Linked DNA regions of Homo sapiens: all the other regions are linked to region 3. The links are contacts of gene promoters, found by promoter capture Hi-C in human tissues and cell types (Jung and others, 2019). All regions are on one chromosome and are shown on one strand. The core of a region is centred on a gene start or on the middle of the fragment in contact, and the rest is flanking DNA. Distances in the headings are between cores, read along the strand shown. Region 1 holds the start of UBE2Q2 (ubiquitin conjugating enzyme E2 Q2). Region 2 holds the start of FBXO22 (F-box protein 22). Region 3 holds the start of PTPN9 (protein tyrosine phosphatase non-receptor type 9).

The links. Contacts are between HindIII fragments. The study calls those that stand out against the background at their distance.
Region 1: a contact is called between the fragment with the promoter of UBE2Q2 here and the fragment with the promoter of PTPN9 in region 3, in 1 of the 25 tissues and cell types used here (heart right ventricle).
Region 2: a contact is called between the fragment with the promoter of FBXO22 here and the fragment with the promoter of PTPN9 in region 3, in 1 of the 25 tissues and cell types used here (IMR-90 fibroblasts).

The regions. Positions count from the first base shown.
Region 1 is chr15:75,842,197-75,846,491 of GRCh38, forward strand. UBE2Q2 (ubiquitin conjugating enzyme E2 Q2) reads left to right here and starts at 1,251. Exons shown (of 13, transcript NM_173469.4): 1 at 1,251-1,650. The coding sequence starts at 1,471. RefSeq lists silencers at 832-1,011, 1,052-1,191, 1,332-1,411, 1,662-2,061 and an enhancer at 1,333-2,230. The HindIII fragment of the contact is 12,421 bases long and covers 1-4,295 here.
Region 2 is chr15:75,901,466-75,905,574 of GRCh38, forward strand. It overlaps FBXO22 (F-box protein 22), which reads left to right and starts at 2,413. Exons shown (of 7, transcript NM_147188.3): 1 at 2,413-2,638; 2 at 3,026-3,164. The coding sequence starts at 2,499. RefSeq lists enhancers at 1,581-2,240, 2,065-2,154, 2,241-2,898, 2,515-2,614, 2,635-2,684 and a silencer at 2,735-2,804. The HindIII fragment of the contact is 6,006 bases long and covers 1-3,452 here.
Region 3 is chr15:75,577,525-75,581,732 of GRCh38, forward strand. PTPN9 (protein tyrosine phosphatase non-receptor type 9) reads right to left here and starts at 1,791. Exons shown (of 13, transcript NM_002833.4): 1 at 1,190-1,791. The coding sequence starts at 1,252. RefSeq lists silencers at 999-1,398, 1,659-2,148 and an enhancer at 1,358-1,956. The HindIII fragment of the contact is 16,601 bases long and covers 1-4,208 here.

The DNA.
Region 1 (4,295 bases), core at 1-2,500, 260 kb after region 3:
TGGGAGCACTGTGCAACTACATAGGTTGGACGCATATGCAGCTGGTCCTGCCTCTTGCACTTACGATTGCACACACTATTGTCTGCCAAATTGGGATGTATTCCTTTGGACTGCTATCCAGACCTTTATTCATTTTTTGAGCACCTACAATGTGCCAGGAATTGTGCTAGTGGTGGGGATTCCAGATAAGAGCGAGCATTCAATTCAATCATATCGGGTTTCTACTATATAACAGGTCTTGTTCTAGGTCCTGGGGATACAGCTCTGAACACATTAACACGGGGCAGAGACAAGGAATAAATGGGTTAAAGATCAGATAGTGACAGGTGCCCAACAAAAACTTAGCACAGGACGATGTGACACAGGGTGACTATTTGAAATGGGTTGTGGTGGGGGGTGCCGGAGATGATATTTGAGCTATGAGTTTAGTGAAAATAGTGGGCAGCCCTAGCTCCATGGGGGTGTGGGTGGGGAGGGTTATCTTAAGCTTGGGAAACAAGGCAAAATAAGGAAAGGGGGGAGAGAGAGACTATATACGGCAGAGTGAACACAGGTGGTAGCTAAGGGAAGGGATGAAATCATGGGACACCTCCAGGCAACAGCCTCCAGGGGCTAAACCATCGTCTTGGGTAAATGGATGGTTTGAGAGCAAAGGCGGGAGCAGCGAGTCCGGTGAGAAGGTCCTCACAGGAACCCAGGCTGGTGAGAAGGTCCTCACAGGAACCCAGGCTAGCGAAGCGGTGGCTCGGACTAGGGTGAAAGTAGCGGAGGTAACGCTGGGTGAGCCGCACCCGCGTCTCCCACGAGGTCCCCCCAGTGAGGTTAGCGGGTGCCGCGCCGAGCGCCAAGCTGAGGAGCCGCCCCCAGGGGCTGGCGCTAGTCTGCAGCGGCGCCGACGTGGCCGGCGCGATCCGCCACGCACGTGTCCGGCTCCAGGCCGGGGGCGGGGGCGCGCGGGGGTCTCCGGCTCCTCCCCGACTTCTGGGGCCCGGGCGCCAGCTGGCCCCGAGCCTCCAGTCCGCGGGTGCGAAGAACGGAGCAGATGGGTCGGGAACAAGGGAGCTGGGTCAAGGCGAGGAGGGGGCGGCCGGGCGCGCGCGCTCTGGCCTCGTGCACGCGCTGAAACCGGAGCGCGCAGGGCGCGCCAGGGTGAGGGGGACGGGGGCGGGGTGGGGGCAGCCCTTTCCCAGGCGGTAGCGGGGGCGGCGTCGCTGTTGCCCTTTTAAGCCGCGGGGCCGCCGCCTCCTGCCGCTGGAGTCGGTTACAAAGGAAGCGCCACCCAGGCCGCCACACGCCGAGGCTTCCGCGCCCCTCGCCATTTTCCAGCAGCGCTCGACGAGGCGGAGCCGCGAGAGCGCGGCCCAGGCCGGCCCCGCGGGGCGGTCGCGGCCGTGACGGCGGCTCCGGGCCCGGCTCCCCTTCCGCGCCCGGCTCCCCTTCCGCGCCCCTCCCGCCGGAGATGAGGGGAAGATGTCCGTGTCAGGGCTCAAGGCCGAGCTGAAGTTCCTGGCGTCCATCTTCGACAAGAACCACGAGCGATTCCGCATCGTCAGTTGGAAGCTGGACGAGCTGCACTGCCAGTTCCTGGTGCCGCAGCAGGGCAGCCCGCACTCGCTGCCGCCGCCACTCACGCTCCACTGCAACATCACGGTGAGGCGCCCGGCCGCGGCCCCGCGGGGCAGGGCGAGGACGGAGAGGGGGCGCTTCGAGTCCCGGGACAAAGGGGAGCCTGCCCCGGAGAGGCTCCGGCTCCCCGGGCGGGGCAGGCCCGCCCCTTTCCCCCGCGACTTGCCCATCCCAGGCCGGGCTGGGACTGCGCGAGGCTTGGGTGGGAGGAGGCGGAGGGCGCGTCTTTCCGGCTTCTCGCCAGGGGCTGGCTTGGGGGCTTCTGGCCCATCTCGGTCCCCGTCTCCTAGCCCCGAGGGGGGAGTCCGCGGCGGCCCAAGCCCTTGTGGGGTCCATGGCCGCCCTCAGCCGGCCTGCTCCCGGGACCGGGGCGGGGCGGGGCGGGGCGGCGCAGCTCCGGCTGTTGTTTGAGCCCAGGCCGGCAAGGGGAACGGCCCTTAAGTTTTAACGCCTCATTTTTCAGTCGGATTTTCCTTCTTCCCGCTTGTTCAGCCAATTGTTTTTAAGTTTGCGTTTAAGGAGAAACTGACAATGAGAATGGACTCGTTGACGGAGGAAAAGTTGGAATGCAGACTCTGGTGCTGTTTGAGCGACCCCTCTCCCCCGGGCCTGGCTGCGCGCTGCTGTGTTCTGGAAAGGAGCATAGTACCGTCGTTGCGGCAGGTGGTGTTGAGTGTGTATTCGTGTGGCCCCTCCCTTGTGTGTAAGCCTCGAAAATGGATAGGTGAAAGGAGATACGCGCCAGGGCTGCTCCCCGGAAAGATCACGTATGTCACAAAGCCGAAAAGACACTTTTAAAAACTCACTCATTAAGCGGAAATCTCATTAGAAACCCAAGGCTTGGTAAAGGAATTGAAGTATTAAGTTTCTCCATAAAAGTGTATCGTGAAGCTATTCGTCGTGAAATTGATGTAGGATATTGGTCCAAACTGCAGAATATTCTCTTGGTTATAATAGGCGTCAAGGTGGTGGCTTCGGGCTCCTTTTCAAACATGGCTAAAACCAAGTCTTGTTTTTAACTCCCTTTGGTTGAGTCAGTGGGTACTCAAGTGCCTGCAGGGTGGCTGGCGTTTGCAAAAACCTTGATGTTATAATTGACCTTAAAATGGTTACCAGACTATCTGGGCAGAAGGTGTGTTAATTTCAAAAAAAAAAAGACAAGTGCTGTACTGAGGAGATAATTCATTTATTGAATGAATACGTCTGAGTGTTCTGGGCACTAGTGTTGCAGAATTGAGTGAAGTCGTCCTCGCTCTCAGAACTCAGTCTTCTTGGGGGAAGAGTTCAATAAGGTGACAGCTCCTGTGGTATCATCAGGAAAGCCAAAGCAACTAATTTTGACTTGGGGGAGGTGCGCTTCAGGGAAGGCTTTGATGAGAGGCTGAGACAGTTAGAGATGAGCTTCCACAGGTGACTACAATTTTGGAAGGCTGGCGGAAGGGCATTTTAGACTGAGGAAACTCCACCCAAAGAAGACACGGAGATTTGAGAAAGTGTGGTTTCCTTAGAAGTAGAAAATTTATGCTAAGACTTGAGAAGCCCACGATACAGGCTGGAGAAGGGGAGGATTTTCCAAGAGTGGAAAACAGAAAGTGTAGTAGTTGTCATGAAGCAGGTGTTTTAAGGAGACGGGCCTGAATGGCTTCGAGGGTGATTACTCTGGTAGAAGTTGGGGCATGGCCACGAAAAGGTAGGGCTGGTTTGAATGATAGGAGACTGAATTTGTAGGCTGTGGGGAGCTACTAAGTTTACTCAGGTAAGTTGGGAGAATGTATCTTTCATCCAGGATTAGAAATGGTTCTCTACAGTGGGTGGCATTAGGAAATGTGGTTATCCCAGTGGGGGTGGGGTGGTCTTATTGCTGTGCCGGCATTTAGTGCTAGGAGTACAGGGATACCAAATGTTTTGCAACGTTCAGGCAGTCTGCCACAGCAAAGAATTATCCCACCTAAAGTGCCACTGGTGCCCCATCGAGAACCATATTGAAGGCTGGTAAGAGTCTGCTGCAGATAAAAATAAGGAGTGATGACCTGGATTAGGCAGTGGCAACAGAAATGGAGCAAGAAGTGAATGAGACACTTTCAGTACAAGGAGGATTTAGTGAGGACTAGTGTAATGGCACCCACCGCTAGGTAGAAACTATTAAAATTGACTTGCTAGTGAAATATGACAGACTATCAGGAGATAATTATCATGGCAGCTGCTCAGTACAAATGTCTGCTAACTTTTTATTATGGAAAATCATCAAATGTACAAAAGTTGAACAGTGTAATGTAGCCAGCCTCAACAATGATAAACTTTTGGCTAATCTTCATCTGTACTCCACTTTAGATTATTTTGAAGCAGATTCCAGACAGATCACTTCATCTGTAAATATTTCTGCTTGTATCTTTTGAAGGTAAAAGACTCTTTTATTTTTTATTATTATTTTTTGAGACGGAGTCTCGCTGTGTCGTCCCAGCTGGAGTGCAGTGGTGTGACCTGGGCCCACTGCAACCTCCGCCTCCCAGGTTCAAGCAATTCTGCTGCCACCGCCTCCCGAGTAGCTGGGATTACAGGTTTCCGCCGCCACACCCGGCTAATTTTTGTGTTTTTAGTAGAGACGGGGTTTCACCATGTTGGCCAGGCTGGTCTTGAACTCCACCTCAAGCTCCCAAAGTGCTGGGATT
Region 2 (4,109 bases), core at 1,163-3,662, 320 kb after region 3:
CTCTGCTTCCTTGAGATTTTTCTATGTTGGTTTCATCTTTTGGTTGCATGTTATGTGCAGCCCCCTTACTTGATCCAGAGGTAGATAAATGGCCCTGTCTTCTAGTGTCTCCTTAGGAGGTGAGGAAATCTCTAAAAGCACCATCCCATCAAGCACACTGCCTCTTGCCTTTCCTTGGCTACATCAGGGACCTGTGCCCACCCCTAAACCAATGGTGGTGAAAAGAATGAAACCATCGTGATTAGTTTGCACAAATGGTTCTCAAAGCCTTATTTGGGGAACACTGGAGACCCCTGAGACCATTTCAAGAGGTTTTAAAAGACTATTTTCATAATATTAAAACATTTGCCATTTTCACTCATTCTTCCATGTGTACAATGGAATTTTCCAGAGGCTACATGATGTGATTTTGCAACAGATTGAATTCAGAAGCAAATATGAGAATCTATTTGTCTTCTATTAAGACAAATTAAATATTTGCAAAAATGTAGTGATGCCGTCACTGGTAAACTGTCCTCTTTCCCTACTTTATATCAGCCACAAAGAAAGAACGCCCACTTTGAAAGGCAGTCAGGTTTCATTCAGTAGCCAGAGAATGGAGAAGGGGAGCTCATACTCTAAAGGCACCTTCTCCCAGAGGGATGGGAGGCTGGGGAGTTTAAAGAGTTAGCTGAGGGGCGGGGGAGGTATGAACGGCATGCACAGACTGGAGTTCCAGACAAGCAGGCATAGTCCCTGAACATGCTGCTTCATACATCCATGTTCGTAAGATGCCAGTGAGCTTTCTTTAGGGAGAGGATTTTAGCATTATGTTAATTATCTAAAGGTAACTGGAGGGCGCCTGTTTATCTTCCTCTGGTATTCCGCAAGGGGTCAGGAAGCTCTGGTGACATCTGGGCCATCTGGCTTCCTTAAGCAGCTGCGCCTATAAATAGACTATGGGAAAAAACTGGCTGGGCTTGGTGGCTCATACCTGTAATCTCAACGCTTTGGGAGGCGGAGGCAGAGGGATGTCTTGAGGCCAGGAGTTTGAGACCAGCCTGGGCAACATAGACCCTGGGTCTACCAAAAAAAAGAAAAAAACCACAGCTACTCAGGAGGCTTATGCCACTGACAATGTCATACTATCCACCAGTGGGGGAAGGAGGATTTGGGAAATAATTGTTTTCCATAAAAATATTTCGTTAATGTATAACATCGGTTTTTTAAAAAGAGTTAAGCATTAAGATGTTCTGATTTAATTTTTAATATGGTAAATATTGATAGTCATAACACACATAAACTATTGGTCGTGTCAATATTTTAGGGTGTAAAGGGTCCTGAGGCCATAATGAGAACTGCTAATTTAGACCAAGTTTCTGCCCAAGATCTGGCGATCAAATCAGGGCTCCCTTAGGAAGGAATTGGCGGGAGGAATGGATGTTAGGTGGGGACAAACCTGTGTCTGCTGTGCTTCCATTTCTTGGTGGTTCTCAGTTTGAGCATGCATCAGAATCGTCATAAAGTGTGTTAAAACAGATTGCTGGGCCTCACCCCCAGTGTCTGATTCAGGAGGTCTGGGATAAGGACCGGGAATGTGCTAAAACTTAGTAGTTTCCAGGTGAATCTGATGTCCCTGGCGGGGAACTGGTGCACAGCTTGGGGCGTGCTTCACAGCAATCATCTCACTCAGCTACCTTAGAATGGCAGGTGCTATTTATGCCATTTTACTCATTCGAAACTTTAAACCTGAAGATTACAACGAGTTAACTAAGTTTACAAGGAATAAAGGCAGTGATTTTCACACACTAAGACAATTTTTTAAAAGCAAACGTCCGTTTATAAATCGAGCTTATGCTATTTAAACAGGCATTGGGACTACGAAGAGCAATAAGTACTACCTAGTCCCTGCAAGGAATTTGTGAATTAGAGAAAGATGTAAACTCAGAAATATGGCGGTGCCAGGGCAGTGAGAGGCACAGGCACAGAAGAAGAATTTATTTTCACTGCAGGAGGCCTCCTAGAAAGTTGCCAGGAGCGGTGGCTTATGTCTGTAATTCCAGCACCTTGGGAGGCCCAGGCGGGAGTATCGCTTGAGCCCTGGAGTTTCAGACCAGCCTGGAAACCCGTCTCTACAAAAAATACAAAAATTAGCTGGGCGTGGTGGCGGGAGCTTGTAGTTAAAGCTACGAGGGAGGCTGAGGCGGGAGGATCGCTTGAGCCTGGGAGGTAGAAGCTGCAGTGAGCAGAGGCCGCGCCACTCCACTCCCGCCTGGCCACAGCATTAGACCCAATCTCAAAAATGAAGAAAACAGTTCCGAGCGTATTACGGAACGGAGTACACCTCGGAGTACGGGCTCCAGACGAGGGAACGCACCGGCGTTGCCACGCCCACCTTCCCCGTCCAGCCGGAAGTGGCGCGGACGCCTGCTCAGTGCGCGCCGGCCGGGCAACCCTATGCTGGCGTAATCGGGTTCCTCCGAGCCGCCGTAGGACTGGTTCCGGCGGGCTGGTGAGGAATGGAGCCGGTAGGCTGCTGCGGCGAGTGCCGCGGCTCCTCCGTAGACCCGCGGAGCACCTTCGTGTTGAGTAACCTGGCGGAGGTGGTGGAGCGTGTGCTCACCTTCCTGCCCGCCAAGGCGTTGCTGCGGGTGGCCTGGTGAGGAGAGGAGGCGGAGGCGGGAAGCTTGCCTGGGGACACGCCGTGGGCATGTCCCAGGCTGGCGGGGTGGGGGGAGAGACCCTTGGGACCCACCAGGGCCGTCCCCGGCTCGCTCGCCCTACCTGAGGTGACCCCCTACCCGCGAGGTATCTCCCAGCCGTGGTGCCCCGGGGGGACTTCCCTGAGGGGCGAAGTTCCCCTTAAGGTTTTCTCCATATCTGGCTCTTCTTCCGAACTAGCGCCCTGACTGACACCTACCTACCCCGGGGACTTTGGATCCCGCAGGGATCTCCTGCTGCTGCGCCAGCGGGTGGGGGTTTGTGAGCTGTGGGAGAGACGAAAATGAACGTCCGTTCGCAATCCTTTGTGCGTTTGCGTCCTCAGCGTGTGCCGCTTATGGAGGGAGTGTGTGCGCAGAGTATTGCGGACCCATCGGAGCGTAACCTGGATCTCCGCAGGCCTGGCGGAGGCCGGCCACCTGGAGGGGCATTGCTTGGTTCGCGTGGTAGCAGAGGAGCTTGAGGCAAGTAGCAAGGGGTGTCATGCACAGTCATTTGCAGGTTGGTGGTTCAGTCTTTGAGAACTATTTTTTTTTAAATCCCAGTTTTGTTAATTAAAGGAACATCTCGTTCCGTGAAAAGATTTTGTAAACATCAGTTTTAGTGACTACACGGTAAGGATGTGTCATGATTTATTTGACCGTTCATCAAATGTTGGGCCTTTTTTTTTTTTTTTGAGACGTAGTCTCGCTCTGTGGCCCAGGCTGGAGTGCAGTGGCGCGATCTCGGCTCACCGCAAGCTCCGCCTCCCGGGTTCACGCCATTCTCCTGCCTCAGCCTCCCGAGTAGCTGGGACTACAGGCGCCCGCCACCATGCCCAGCTAATTTTTTGTATTTTTAGTAGAGATGGGGTTTCACCGTGTTAGCCAGAATGGTCTCGATCTCCTGACCTCGTGATCCGCCCGCCTCGGCCTCCCAAAGTGCTGGGATTACAGGCGTGAGCCACCGCGCCCGGCATGTTGGGCCTTTTAAGTATCCACATTTTCACTATTAACAACAACGCTGTGCAGAACCTTCCCTTCACCTGCTTCCCTTGAAGCAACTTTTTGTTGTCTGTTTTACCGGGAAGACAACTGGGTGTGTCTTGCTCAGTGAGCACACCTAGAAAGCCAAGAACCAAAACTTAAAGCCAAATATTTCAACTTCTGATCCTGTACTCTTTTGCTTCTCTGGCCCCCAACTTCAAAAGGGGAGCCAACACCAGGAGAGATGAAGACTCGAACTGTGGAGTCAGAGGGGCTGCAGGGTGTACCATCTCTGGGGAGTGGAAGGGAACCATTTGACAGTAAAGTGCCAACCTGCTGCTCTGTCACTCTGTTTACTTTAGTACGGCTTACAGACAGACATAACTACGGTGCAGCCGTCACAATCAGGAAATTATCACTGATACATTTCTACCATTTTATCCT
Region 3 (4,208 bases), core at 541-3,040:
GGTGTCAAAAGACAAAACCGTGGCCTGAGGCCAAATAGAAAAATGTCATCTCCACAAATAAGGAGAAAAGACAAGGACTTTAAAAAATCAGGTCAACAAGCCCATTAGCCAATAATAGTTTGTAAAACTGGACTGTCTTCACACTAGAGGCTGTGCTAGCAAATGTGGTCCTTGGAAACAAGAGCTGTAGAGCTTGAAATGGGTTGCCAGCATGGTTTGCCTTTTTCTTTTTTCATGTTTATTTTTATTTTTTTTATTTATAACATGGAATCAGACTATGACTATAATCGAGCATAGCTATGGCGGGGTATGGGCAGTGCCAAGGAAGAGACAGCGAAAAGCCCGTAGGGTTCCCAGTCTAAGCTAGCAGACCTTCCCATCTTCCTCAGGAGTGGTCCCTGTCTCCGCAGCTGGAATGTGCGGGAGGGAAAGTTACAAGGGCCCCCAAAATGAGACAGCAAACCACTTCCTTCTGAAAACTAAAGGTCATAGGCTTTTAAGGAACAATAGAGCTCAATGTAAGCTTCAGAAAGATGGAGACAGTCAGATGAGACGAGGGTAGGGAAGCGCGGGTGAGGAGATGCGCCCCGTCTGGGATAGCTGAATAGGGGGGTCAAGGCCAGGGACTTTAGGAACACGAGAAGGGCTGGATCTTCCATAACCTGCCCAAGTGGGCCTGAGAAACCTAAGAGGCTCCTCTGAAAATCTAGGGCATCTATGCATCCAATACTCTCAGCCCTCTCCTCGGGAAGGGAGATAATCCCCACAGGAAGCACCCCCCAAACTGGGGCTTTTCCTGCCCTTCAAAAGCCACAAACCCTCACGGAAAACATTTACAAGGGAGTGGAAGGGCCGGGGGCAAGCAGCGGTTCTGCAAATCTCGGGAAGAAGGCCCCTGGATCCAAGGAACTTTGCCCCTGGAATAGGGGGTGGGGTGCGGAGGGCACCGTCTGAGGCTGGTAAGCCTCGGCGAAAGAAGCGGCGGGAACGGGAGTAGGGTCCCGTGGGTCCCCCGACGAGGGGGTGGCGGCCTGGGGCGCGGTCGCCGGTGAGGGAGGCCCGCGAGCCGGGCACGGGAGCGGGGGGCTGCGGCCCCGTGGCTGCAAAGAGCCGGCACTCGGGAGGCAGAGGCCGGCGTAGGCCTCGGGGGCCCGGACACACCCAACGCGGCGGCCTCGGGCCCGCTTACCTGCTCCTCCTCCGGGGTCAGCTCCGGCGCCATGTCGGGCCGGGGCGCGGTCGCGGGCTCCATCCCCCCGCCACCGCCGCCGGGCGGACAAAACTCGCTCGCGAGCGCGGGAGCCCGGCGCGCTCGGCCTCCGCTTCCGCGTCCCCGCGCCTCAGCAGCCCGGGGCCGGCTCGCGCATAGTGTGGCCGGCAGGGCCCGGCGCCTGCAGCGGCCGCAAACGCCGCTTCTGCTTCCTTAAGAAAAATCTCTCCGAACTGCCGCTCTCTTCCGGGAGGAAATCCTTTTTTATATTATTCGCTCCGTTCCTCACACTCCCCCTTATCTCCTGGGGAAGAAAAAGTGCAGGCGAAGAGCTAACAGCCACTCGGGATTTAAAAGGAAATAGGAAATCAGGAACTTTTAGAGCCGGGAGCGAAGGGTCGGCGGAAATTTCCCGAAGGCCGCCGACCCCCTCGGCGCCCCGCTTCCTCGGCCGCGCTCCCGCTCCTCCACAGCGCCACAGAGCTCGGGGCCGCCCAGCCGGGCCGTCCTCGCGGACGCTGGCCCTGCGACCTGCGCGGCTGCCTCAGCCAGGCTCCTCGCGGGCGGCCGCAGCGAAAGGGAGGGAGTGGAGAGGGAGCGAGGGAAACGCGCCCCCCTCCTGACTCACGGCCAACGCTGCGGCCGCCCCGCGGCCGCCCGAGCCCCCCGCGGCTCCATTGAGAAACTGAGCGTCTCATTCACAAGCTGGCGGCGAGGAGGGCCCGGCGGAGCGAGGACGCAGTCCGGGAGGGGGAGACAGAGAGGAGCCCGGGCGGGGGAGGGGACCGGGAGGGGGAGGGGACCCGGGCGGGGAGGGGACCCTAGCTGGACGGAAGGCAACTCGACTGCGGGAGGGAGAAAAAGGAAGAAAAGAGTATTTCGTGAGGCTCAGATCCTCGGAGGAGGAGGAGAATACGTTCGTTTGCAAATTATCTGCTGACTGGCACCTCTCCTGGGGTTAACTTGCCGCTGCCACCTACGCGTGAGAAACCCACAATCCTCAACTATTTGTCGCTTGCAGCCTGAAAGACCCTGGAAAGGTTGCCTGCCAGGCCAGGATGCTTAGGTGGAAGGAATCGCACCTGCCTCCCTCTCTCTCCCTCCTTACTGGCTGCACCCTGTAATTCATCTCCAGTGTCGCTAATTTTAATCCCCCATAGAAACGACATCAGACTCCGAACATCATTCAGGAATGACGCGGCCTTTGCAGACCTTTGATTTTCACTAGGGCAAGTGCAGCAAAGGGTTCAGGATTAGGGGTACAGTCTTGGAGTCATTTGGGGAGGAATGGGGCATAGAGAAGGCAAGGCTGGGTCTGGTACGTTGTTGCATTATTCCAAGCCAAAGATAAATATTCCAAAGGGACCCAAAGTCCACAACTAGTTCCAAGGCTGAAGCCCTGGAGCCAGTCCTGAGGGACCCAAAGGAGGGGCCTTCAGACAACAGGAAGGTGCTGTGAGTTGTGATGCTCCTATGATTTTTTTTTTATTTTTTTTTTTGAGACGGAGTCTCTGTGTCGCCCAGGCTGGAGTGCAGTGGCGCGATCTCGGCTCACTGCAACCTCCACCTCCCGGGGTCAAGCGATTCTCCTGCCTCAGCCTCCTGGGTAGCTGGGATTACAGGTGCGAGCCACCACGCCCGGCTAATTTTTGTATTTTTAGTAGAGACGGGGTTTCACCATGTTGGTCAGGCTGGTCTCGAACTCCTGACCTTGTGATCCGCCCGCCTCGGTCTTCCAAAGTGCTGGGATTACAGGCAGGCGTGAGCCACCGCGCGCCTGGCTTTTTTGTTTTTCTTTTTTTGAGACGGAGTCTCACTCTGTCACCCAGGCTGGAGTGCAGTGGCGCGATCTCGGCTCACTGCAAGCTCCCCCTCCCAGGTTCACGCCATTCTCCTGCCTCAGGCTCCCAAGTAGCTGGGACTACAGGCACCCGCCACCGCGCCCGGCTAATTTTTATTTTTATTTTTTTTATTTTTTTGTATTTTTAGTAGAGACGGGCTTTCACCATGTTAGCCAGGATGGTCTCAATCTCCTGACCTCGTGATCCGCCCACCTCGGCCTCCCAAAGTTGTTGTTGTTGTTGTTGTTGTTTTAACACAGGGTCTCACTTTGTTGCCCAGGCTGGAGTGCAGTGGCGTGATCACAGCTCACTGCAGCTTCAAAGTCCTGGGCTCAAGCAATCCTCCCGCCTCAGCCTCCTGAGTAGGTGGGACTACAGGTGCACACCACTGCACCTGGCTAATTTTTTTTTTTTTTTTTTTGGTAGAGATAGGGGTCTTACTATGTTGCCCAGGCTGGTCTCAAACTCCTGGTAAACTGCCTTTGCAAAATTATAACTGATGATTTTATGACAGTGAAAGAAATCAGACCTAACTGACTCTATCTTGTTTCTAACCCTTAAGCTGTCCTTGTTCATTCCTGGGCATAGGCCGAACTAACTTTGGGAAGGAATTCAGTTCATGGTTTGACTCTGAAACAAAATTGATAATAGCCCTTTCCCGAAAAGACCCCCTTCTTCCCTGGGGTCCAGTCTGCCTTTGCAGGACTAACAGATTAAGCTACAAGATTAGAAATTACAATTTAGGGGTCATGCAGCCATGGGCTCCAAGAGTCTAAACCTCCCCAAACTGCTCCTGGGGATAACATCACTATTGTAAAACCTAAGATCAGTGCTTGAGATATTTTGCAGACCCTGCACCCAGTGCATCAGCTGATACCATCCAGACTGGTAATCTGGCCCAAATAGGTCTGCCATCCCAACCAGGAACAGAAGACAGCAAGAAAAACTCATTTCAACTCCCTATGATCCAATCTCAAACCTGACCAATCAGCACTCTCCACTTCCTAAGCCCCTACCCACCAAATTATCTTTAAAAACTCTGATCCCTTAATGCTCCAGGGAGACTGATTTCAGTAATAATAAAGCTCCAGGCCGGGCATGGTGACTCACGCCTGTAATCCCAGCACTTTGGGAGGCTGAGGCAGGCGGATCATGAG